2 separate regions of the Homo sapiens genome follow, and region 2 is linked to region 1. The links are contacts of gene promoters, found by promoter capture Hi-C in human tissues and cell types (Jung and others, 2019). All regions are on one chromosome and are shown on one strand. Each heading gives the region's core, a stretch centred on a gene start or on the middle of the fragment in contact. The rest is flanking DNA. Distances are from core to core; before and after follow the strand shown. Region 1 holds the start of ERGIC1 (endoplasmic reticulum-golgi intermediate compartment 1). Region 2 overlaps LOC100288254 (a long non-coding RNA gene).

Region 1 (5,234 bases), core at 978-3,477:
TCTCACCATTCCGCAGTGAGCCCAAGCCCTGAGAGTATTTCCTAGTTAAGCTGGGCCCCCTGACACCTGGGCACTCAGGGACCTGAAGTATGCCAAGGGAGCCCCAGACTAGCCAGCTTCTCAGAGCTGAGCATTTCTCTCTTTAAATATCAATGCCTGACACAGGGCCCTTCCAAGGCCAAAGGCTAGAGCTGGCCTTACCCATTTTCCTTACTTCCCTTACCTGCCCCCACAAGCCACCAATTCAAGGAGCACAAGGTTGGGAGCCATGTGTGACCTGAGACCTAAGTCTACCCTTCCCATTTAGCACCCATAAAGTCCAAGATAAGGCCCTCATCCCTGGAGCCTCATTTCCTCCTTGGTAAGACGGAAGGGTGAGGTGCAGGGAGAAAGGATTAAAAGATCAAAAACAGCAATTTCCCCAGCAAGCTCAAAATCACCGGAACCTACTGAATCACACAGGGGCAGGGGGCGGCGGTGGCACGAATCCCTATGGTTGGCCTGGGTAAGGGGAGGCTTTGTGGAACCAGAAATTGATGTGCCGACCACAGCTCTTATGGCCCAGACTTAACTGATGCTATTAGGACTGACCTTGAATTCCACCAGAGGGGCTGTCCTTGTTCAAAACTGCCTAGGTCTGCTAGCCTCAGGGCTGCCCGGCAGGGGCAAGAAGCCGGCAAACATTTGCTAGCTGGTATCAGGGACCCGGACAGGCTGGAAAACCATGTCAACCAATCAAGAGGTCCAAGACCAGTGTCCTCTTTGGGCCTAAACCCCAATATATCCCATGCTATGGGGGTCATGGCAGGCTAAGGGCCTTTCTCTCTGGGTAGACTGTCACTTTACACTGCCTTCACATGCAAGAAGAGGGGAAGAAATACCTCCTGTGGCACAGGCATCTGAATCACTATTTTGTGGATGTGGAAAACCCCTCCTGGAGAACACCCCCCATCCACTAATGCCCTATTTCTGAGCTCTAAATCATGCCAGACTCTGCTAAGGGTGTTTCACGCACTCAGTCGTCACAAGCGGAGACCTTATTTTTAGCCCCAATTTGCAGGTGGTGAAACTGAGGGCGCTCGGAGACTTGCTGAGGTCAGCCAGCCGAGCGGCGACAGGGAGTTCTGAACCCAGAGCCTTTGCCCCTAACTTCTAGAATATACCGAGCTGTTCAGTAGAAAGGGCAGAGCCAGGATTCTAATCCAGCTCCTCCCTGCATTAAAGCCCTGCTCTTTTCCCAGCCAGACACCAAGTGTGGCTGCCTCAGGCCAGGACATCCCCTGGGGCTCCACACCTCAAGGGAACCTCTGGTGGAGATCTCTTCCCCCGCAGGCTTCCAGAATGCCCCATGCAACCTAGACCATGAGGCAGCTGGACCCCACAAAGGACCCATTGTGGTGACTGCAGAAAGCCAAGGCCAGACCCCGGTGGCCCTTCTGCAGAGTCCTGCCCAAGGCGCCTCCTCCCCTTCCCATGGTGCCCCCATACCCAGCGGACAGGGCTGGGGCTGAGGGAGGGAGGGGCGGGGGCAGGCCTCCCGATCTGCCCGGCCTGGGGGAGCCTCAGGCTATAGAAACTTAAAACCCTCCAGCTGCCGGCAGGCTGCATGGGGCCCCAGGCCCCTCCGGACTCATTCCAGGTGCCCTGCCCCACCTGTCAGCTGAGGTGGGGTCCACCAAGGAGGCTCAGTAGAGGGAGGAGAGGGATGCTGGGGTGTTATGGGCTGTTCCCATCTGGGAGGAGGGAGGAAATGTTTCCTAGTGTGGGGGAGGGGAATGCAAGGTATCCGGGCAGGCTGGGGAGGGGGCTCGGCGGAGGGAAGGTGGGTGGATTTGTCTCCCGCTGCACGAGGGGGCCTCCGCGGCTCTGGCTGGCTTCGTGTGCGGCAGGGGGGGGGCTCGCCTGGGGTCCCTAGGGGCCTGCGGAGGCATGCACAGGGCGGGGAGCCGCTTTTGCATGCAGGGCGGGAGGGGTCCGCGGCGTGCCGGGGCGCTCCCTCTGCCCGCTGAGGGAACTCCCGACTGGCCGGGGTCGCCACACTCACCTCCTGAAGTCAAAGGGCATCGTGCCGCCGCCGGGGGTGGGAGCGCTGCAGGCCAGGCGGGCCGCGGCGCCGCGTGGGTCCGAGCCCGCTGCCAACGCCTCCTCCGGCCGCCCCGCCCCCGCCGGCCGCCCCCCTGACACTCGCCACTCGCCACTCGCCACTCGCCTCCCGCTGCCGGGAAGTGACGCTCCGCGCAGCCCATTGGGCGCCGCCCGCCCGGCCGCCCCTTCCGCCACCCGGTTAAAGGGGCCCGCGGGCAGGCAGGGAAGGGGCGGAGAGTCGAGGCTGTCGGAAGGGAAGGGAGTCCCCCAAAGACTCCAGTACTCATTCCTTCAAGCCTCCCACTTAGATTTCCTTCTCCATCTCTTTGGATGCCCTCGGACAAATTCTCTGCTTCTCCGAGCCCAGTTTTTTGCATTTGTAAACAGTTTCACTGAACTGTGATTGAGTTGGGGGCGGGGGGCGGGGTGATACAGACTTTGGCCGTGCACAGCGTCTAGCTCTGAGTGAGGGCCTAATACTGTGGGGGAAGGGAAGAGGTCGGCCATCCTAGGCTGTTAAGGTGGACTCACCTCTGCCCCTGCCGTGTCTCTCTGGGAAAGCCACTGGGCTTCTCAGAGCGCCCCCCCCCCGCCCCGCCCCTTTTGCATATCTGCACAAAGAGGACGATGACACCTACTTGAGGGGGTTTTCCTGGGGATCAGCTGAGAAACAGGAGACTGGCTTAGCACAGTGCCAGGCACCTGAAACTATTGAGGCTGGCAGTGGCTGTCCCTGCTTCCATCTGCCCCTGTCGTTCACTCCAGTGGGCATTCACAGAGCATCTGCTCTGAACCAGGTCCATCGAGAACATGCAGGGTTGTGGCAGAGGCAGATGGGACCTGCACTGTGACTTGGCCAACGTGGACTGTGCCGATTGTCTCCTTCTTAGAGCCTCAGTTTCCTCCTCAGGAATACAGAGCAGCTGCCTCCGTGACTGCTGGATTAGAGGAGATGGTAGTTGAGGTCACACAAGACCTGAGTAGGGGAAACTCACTCTGAACTTCCCCGAGGTTCTGTCACTGGCCCTTTCTCCAAGGTTGTGGTGGGACAGGGCTTCAAAAAACCCAGGGGAGAATGGTGAGGGCTCGGGTTCCAAAAGCAGAGTCAATGGACAGTTTCCCCCTGTGTAAATAGAGGGGAACAGCAGTGCTGGTTCCTCCGGGAGGATTCAGAAGGGACAACACTAGCACGGGGTCTGGGGTAGGGTGACGTGGTGAACCAAAGCCTTCCCCTAGAGCATATGCCGGGACCTGACCTCTGCGTTCCCTTTTCATTCATTCACTCATTCATTCATTCATTCATTCAGTGTCAGTGGTCTGACACTGTTGGGGGAGAAAAGGAAATCTCAGCCTGAACTGGAAACCTAGGGACAGCAGGGAGAGTTAAGGGATCTTGAGCAGCCACTGCTTCCAAACAGCCATTCGTTGGCCCTGTGTGGGAGGAAACATGCAATGATGGATCTTTGACCTCGAATCCTCCCTCCTCAAACTGTGGTCCACAGACCAGCCACATGGCCATCACAGGACAGACTCTTGTCCCCAGGCCAGACCTACTGAATCAAGTGTGCATTTGGGATGATATCCAAGGTCAGCAAATGCCTGGCACAGAGTAAATGCAAGACAGGGTTGACTATCATTGCTCTTTTCGAGTGGGGATAGAGCTCCCAACTTTTGGCTGGGCATGTGGGTGCTCACAGTGAAAGTTGCATTTCCCCAGCTTCCTTTGTAGCTAGATGTGGCATTGAGAAGTAAAGGGAAGTGTCTTGTGGGGCATCTGGGATAGTTGGTATGTCTGCTTTACCCTCTGTGTCCCTTTCTCCATCTGGCTGCCAGGAATGTAGGCGTCACCATCCTGGACCATAAGGTGGAGGCCACCACAGAGCAGAGCAACAAGACAAAAAGAGCCTAAGTTCCTGCCGGGCACAGTGGCTCACACCTGTAATTGCAGCACTTTGGGAGGCCGAGGTGGGCGGATCACCTGAGGTCAGGAGTTCGAGACCAGCCTGACCAACATGTGGTGAAACCCTGTCTCTACTAAAAATACAAAAATTAGCCGGGCGTGGTGCCACACGCCTGTAATCCCAGCTACTCAGGAGGCTGAGGCAGGAGAATCGCCTGAACCTGGGAGGCAGAGGTTGCAGTGAGCCCAGATCACACCACTGCCCTCCAGCCTGTGCGACAGAGTGAGACTCTGTCTCAAAAAAAAAAAAAAAAAACCTGAGTTCCTGTCTCTAAGTGGCAAAATACCTGTCCTCAAACACCTGCCCAAGAGAAACAAACATCTATCTTATTTAAGCTATTGTTATTCTGTATTTTCAGACACTTACACCTAAACCCAATGCTGATACACCTATGCAGCCTGGCTAGCTACTTGACTGCCCCAATGCTCATGGACTAGGCCAGTCCCCTATTACATAATCGCATGGTACCTTGTAGGTTTCCTTGGGAGAACTGGGCATGACGTGTGATTAGGTTATTATTAATTCGCTAGTAACTACTACCCCATCTGAGTGAAAGTTCCCTGAGAGGGGCCTGTCGGGGGGTAGGGGGCTAGGGGAGGGATAGCATTAGGAGAAATACCTAATGTAGATGACGGGTTGATGGGTACACAAACAATGATGCCATACACAAATGGCACGTGTATGCCTGTGTGACAAAACTGCACGTTCTGCACATGTATCCCAGAACCTAAAGTATAATTTAAAAAAAAAAAGGAAAGTTCCCTGAGACAAGGTGGTATCACCATCATATCCTAGCATCCAGCCAGACCCTGCACATGCTGGGGATGCACTAACTATGCGTTGAAGTTTGAATAGAGGCTTCCCAGGGAGGCAGGCCTTCCCACGGAGGCAGGCCTTACCAACAGAACAGCGGATGGGAGGGGAGGTATCAACATGGGCCTCCGCTGTGGGACTGGTGAGGTCTGTGAGCAGACCAGGCTGTCAGTCCCAGATGGTCCATCCACTCAAGAGCCAGTGGGAGATGGAGCTAAGAAAATCAGATTGTGTCTGCAGTACGTGGGAAGGCTCTGGGTCTCTTTGAGCAGGGAACAACAATACAAGTTAAGTTTTCGGATTATCAATCTTGTGGAAGCCTGTGGTAGGTAGCCAGCCTCCAGTGACCCTGATCTCCTGGTATTCCCATGCCCT
Region 2 (5,234 bases), core at 2,048-4,547, 540 kb after region 1:
TGGTGAAACCCTGTCTCTACTAAAAATGCAAAAATTAGCCAGGCTTGGTGGCACATGCCTGTAATCCCAGCTACTCGGGAGGCTGAGGCAGGAGAATTGCCCGAACCCGGGAGGCAGAGGTTGCAGTGAGCCGAGCAGTGAGCCGAGATCATGCCACTGCACTCCAGCCTGGGTGACAGAGCGAGACTCTGTCTCAAAAAAAAAAAAAAAAAGTCAGGCATGGTAGCTCATGCCTATAATCCCAGCTACTTGGGAGGCTGAGGCAGGAGAAGTGCTTGAACCTGGGAGGCGGTTCAAGCAACAAGAGCGAAACTACGTCTCAAAAAAAAATTATAGGCAAATATTCATAACCAGAGATGCAATAATTTAGAACAAAATGTTATAAGGGCTAAATGGTAAGAGCTTATGAACACAAAGAAGGAAACAAAAGAAGGAAACAGGCCAGGCACGGTGGCTCAGCCTGTAATCCCAACACTTTGGGAGGCTGAGGCGGGCGGATCACCTGAGGTCAGGAGTTTGAGACCAGCCTGGCCAACATGGTGAAACCCCATCTCTACTAAAAATACAAAAATTAGCCGGGCGTGATGGTGAGCACTTATAATCCCAGCTACTCAGGAGGCTGAGGCAGGAGAATCACTTGCACCTGGGAGGCGGAGTTTGCAGTGAGCTGAGATCATGCCACTGCACTCCAGGGGTGACAGAGCAAGACGTTGTCTCAAAAAAAAGAAAGAAAGAAAAAAAAGGAGGAAACAACAGACACAGGTCTACTGGAGGAGGGAGAGTGGGAGGAGGGGGAGGAGCAGAAAAGCTAACTAGTGGGTACTGGGCTTAATACCTGGGTGATGTAATAATATGTACAACAAACCCCTATGACACGTGTTTACCTATGTAACAAACCTTCACATGTACCCCCAAACCTAAAATAACAATTTTTTTAAATTGCTAAATATGCCACAAAAATCATTTTAATATAGAAATAAAAGAGCTGTTTATGATTCTGAAAAAAAAAAGTTAGCAAATAGAATGCAACAGTACATAAAGAGGACAATACAACCTTGAATTTCCCAGCTTCAAAACTTACTGTAAAACTACAGTAATTAAGACAGTGTAGTACTCGCATAATCATGACATAAAAGATCAATGAAATAAAACTGACAGTCAGAAATAAACTCTAACATTTATGGTCAATTGATTTTTGACAAGGGCATCAAGACAATTCAATGGGGAAAGAATGGCCGGAGGTGGTGGCTCACGCCTGTAATCCCAGCACTTTGGGAGGCCAAAGTGGGTGGATCACTCGAGGTCAGGAGTTCGAGACCAGCCTGGCCAACATAGTGAAACCCTGTCTCTACTAAAAATACAAAATTAGCTGGGCATGGTGGTGCATTCCTGTAATCCCAGCTACTTGGGGGGCTGTGGCAGGAGAATTACTCAAACCTGGGAGGCGAAAGTTGCAGTGAGCCGAGATCGTGCCATTGCACTCCAGCCCAGGCAACAAGAGCACAACTCTATCTCAAAAAAAAAAAAAAGGTGGGCGGGGGTGGATAGAATAATCTTTTCAACAAATGATGCTGGGACACTGGAAATCCACATGCAAAAGAATGAAGTTGGATCCCTACTTTACATCATTTATAAATATTAAGTCAGGCTGGGTGCAGTAGCTCACACCTCTAATCCCAGAACTGTAGGAGGCCAAGGTGGGAGGATTGCTTGAGGCCAGAAGTTAAAGACCAGCTTAAGCAACATAGCAAAATCCCATCTTTAGTTCAAATACATTTATAAAAAATAAAAATAAGTTATTTCATGTTATATGTATTTTACCACAATAAAAATATTAATTCAAAACAGATCAAAGACCTAAATGTAAGTGCTAAAAGTATAAAACTCTTAGAGTGTAAATCTCCATGGCCTTAGACAATGGTTTCTTTTTGTTTTTCTTTCTTTTTCTTTTTCGGACATGGTATATTGCTTTGTCACCCAGGCTGGAGTGCAATGGCATGATCATGGCTCACTGAAGCTTCGACCTTCCATTCTCAAGTGATCCTCCCATCTCAGCCTCCCAAGTAGCTGGGACCACAGGCACACAGCACCATGCCTAGCTAATTCTTTAAATTTTTTTTGTAGATACAGGGTCTCATTATGTTGTCCAGGCTGGTCTTGAACTCTGGGGTTCAAGGCATTTTGCCTCCCAAAGTGCTGGAGTTATAGGCACGGGCCACTGCACCCAGCCAACAATGGTTTCTTAGATATGAGCCCCAAAGCACAAGCAATCAAAGAAAAAAATAGGTTAAATGGACTTCATTAAAATCAGCTGGTGCAGTGGTCCATGACTGTGGTCCCAATTCTTCAGGAGGCTGAGGTGGAAGTATGGATTGGGCCCAGGAGTCAGAGTCTAGCCTGGGTAACATAGTGAGACCCCCATCTCCAAAAAAAAAAAAAACAAACAAAAAAAGGAAACTACCTTTTGTGCTTCAAAAGACACTATCAAGAGGGTTAAGCAAGGAGCATTGGTTCACGCTTGTAATTCCAACACTTTGGGAGGCTGAGGCGGGAGGATCACTTGAGGCCAGAGTTTAAGACCAGCCTGGGCAGCATAGTGAGACCCTGTCTCTACAAAATATAAAGAAAATTAGCCAGGCATGGTGGCATGCAGCTGTAGTCCCAGCTACTAGAAAGGCTGAGGTGAGAAGATCATTTGAGCCTGGAAGGTTAAGGCTGCCGTGAGCCAAGATTGTGCCATTGCACTCCAGCCTGGGCAACAGAGCAAGATCCCGTCTCCAAAATTAAAACAAAAAAAAAGAAAAGAAAGTTAAGCCAGGTGTGGTGGCTCACACCTGTAACCCCGGCACTTTGGGAGGCTGAGGCAGGAGGATCACTTGATCTCAGTCGTTCGAGATCAGCCTAGGCAACATAACAAGACCCTATCTCTACAAAAAGAATTTTTTTTTTTGAGATGGAGTTTCGCTCTTGTTGCCCAGGCTGGAGTACAATGGCGAGATGTTGGCTCACCACAACCTCTGCCTTCCGGATTCAAGCGATTCTCCTGCCTCAGCCTCCCAAGTAGCTGGGATTACAGGCATGTGCCACCACGTCCAGCTAATTTTGTATTTTTAGTAGAGACAGAGTTTCACCATGTTGGCCAGGCTGGTCTTGAACTCCTGACCTCAGGTGATCCCACCCACCTCGGCCTCCCAAATTGCTGGGATTACAGGTGTGAGCCACCGTGCCCAGCCCAAAAAGAAATTTTTTAAGTTAGCTGGGCATGGTGGTGTGCACCTGTAGACCCAGCTACTTGGTAGACTGAAGTGGGAGGATTGCTTGAGCCAGGAGTTCAAGGCTGCAGTGAGCTATGATTGCACCACTGCACTCTAGGTTGGGCAACAGAGTGATACTTCATCTAAAAAAAAAAAAGAGAAAAAATTAGCCAGGCGTGGTGGCAGGTGCCTGGTATCCCAGCTACTTGGGAGGCTGAGGTAGGAGAATCACTTGAATTCAGGAGACAGAGGTTGCAGTGAGCCAAAATCACGTCACTGCACTCCACCCTAGGTGACAGAGCAAGACTCCGTCTCACACACACACACACACACACACAAAAGTAAAAAACCTGCAATAGGCTGGGTGTAGTGGTTCACACCTGTAATCCCAGCACTTTGGGAGGCCAAGGCGGCCAGATCACTTGAGGTCAGGAGTTCGAGACCAGCCTGGCCAACATGGCAAAACTCCGTGTCTACTAAAAATACAAAAATTAGCCAGTCATGGTGGTAGGCATCCGTAATCCCAGCCACTCAGGAGGCTGAGGCGGGAGGATCACTTAAACCTGGGAGGCAGAGGTTTCAATGAGCCAAGATCATGCCACTGCACTCCAGCCTGGGCTACAGAGCGAGACTTCATCTCAAAAAAAAAAAAAAATGAGCAAGTATCTTGAGTAGACATTTTTCCAAAATAGATATACAAGTGGCCTATAAGTACATAAAAAGATGCTCAACATTATTAGCCATTAGGAAAATCAAGTCAAAACCACTTTGGAAACAATTTGCCAATTTTTCAGAAAGTTAAACAGGGTTACCATATGACCAAGCAATTCCATTCCTAGGTATAAATCCAAGACAATTAAAAACATATGGCTACACAAAAGCTTGTACAGGAATGTTCATAGCAGCTTTATTCCAATACCCAAAAAATGGAAACAATCCAAATAACCACCAACTGATGAAAGGATAAACAAAATGTGGTACATCCATACAATGGAATATTGTCCATAAAGAGGAATGAAGTTAGTCTCAGCTACTGGGTATTGTGTGTGTTGGCGGCGGGTGGCGGGTTGGCGGGGGGGAGGCGGGGGGAGGTGGGAGGATTGCTTGAGCCTGGAAGGTTGAGTAACATGGTGAAACCCCATCTCTACTAAAAATACAAAAAATTAGCTGGGCATGGTGGTGCACACCTGTAGTCCCAGCTGCTCGGGAGGCCGAGGTGGGAGAATCACTTCAACTGCGAGGTTGCAGAGAGCTGAGATTGTGCCAGTGCACTCTAGCCTGGGTGACAGAGGGAGACTCCGTCTCAAAAAAAAAAAAAAGAGAAAGGTTTGTGGTCGCCTAGGGCTGGGGTGAGGTAGGGGATAGAATGAAATGGGGAGTGACTGCTAATAGGTACAGGGTTTCTTTTTAGGGTGATAAAAATGTTTTAAAATTCATTGACTATTGATATTTAGTAAATATACTAAAAACCATTGACTTGTACAATGTAAATTGGTGAAGGGGTGGGGGTGGATGGGGAAAAGGGAGATATTGATTCCAGAGTAGAAAGTTTCAGTTAGGTGGAATAGGCATTAGTGACCTACTGCACAGAATGGTGACTATAATAATGCACTGTATACTTCCGAATCGTTAACAGAGTAGATCTTAAATGTTTTCACCACAAAAAAGAGAAGCACGTGGACGGGGCGCAGTGGCTCGGGGCACGGTGGCTCACGCCTGTAATCCCAGCACTTTGGGAGGCGAAGGTGGGCAGATCACGAGGTCAGCAATTTGAGACTAGCCTGGCCAACATGGCGAAACCCCATTTCTACTAAAATTACAAAAATTAGCTGGGCGTGGTGGCAGGCGCCTGTAATCCCAGTAACTTGGGAGGCTGAGGCAGGAGAATCGCTTGAACCCAGGAGGCAGAGGTGGCAGTGAGCTCAGATTGTGCCACTGCACTCCAGCCTGTGCAACAACAAGACTACGTCTCAAAAAAAA

Evidence for each region. Contacts are between HindIII fragments. The study calls those that stand out against the background at their distance.
Region 2: a contact is called between a fragment that was not itself captured here and the fragment with the promoter of ERGIC1 in region 1, in 1 of the 25 tissues and cell types used here (dorsolateral prefrontal cortex).

Annotation. Positions count from the first base shown.
Region 1 is chr5:172,831,244-172,836,477 of GRCh38, reverse strand. It overlaps ERGIC1 (endoplasmic reticulum-golgi intermediate compartment 1), which reads right to left and starts at 2,227. Exons shown (of 10, transcript NM_001031711.3): 1 at 2,045-2,227. The coding sequence starts at 2,064. RefSeq lists enhancers at 1-488, 785-994, 489-1,481 and silencers at 1,465-1,544, 1,555-1,604, 1,975-2,374. The HindIII fragment of the contact is 25,389 bases long and covers 1-5,234 here.
Region 2 is chr5:172,287,568-172,292,801 of GRCh38, reverse strand. All of the region lies in intron 1 of LOC100288254 (a long non-coding RNA gene), which reads right to left. Among named protein-coding and RNA genes, the nearest start is that of UBTD2, 6.4 kb to the right of the region's middle. The HindIII fragment of the contact is 5,319 bases long and covers 638-5,234 here.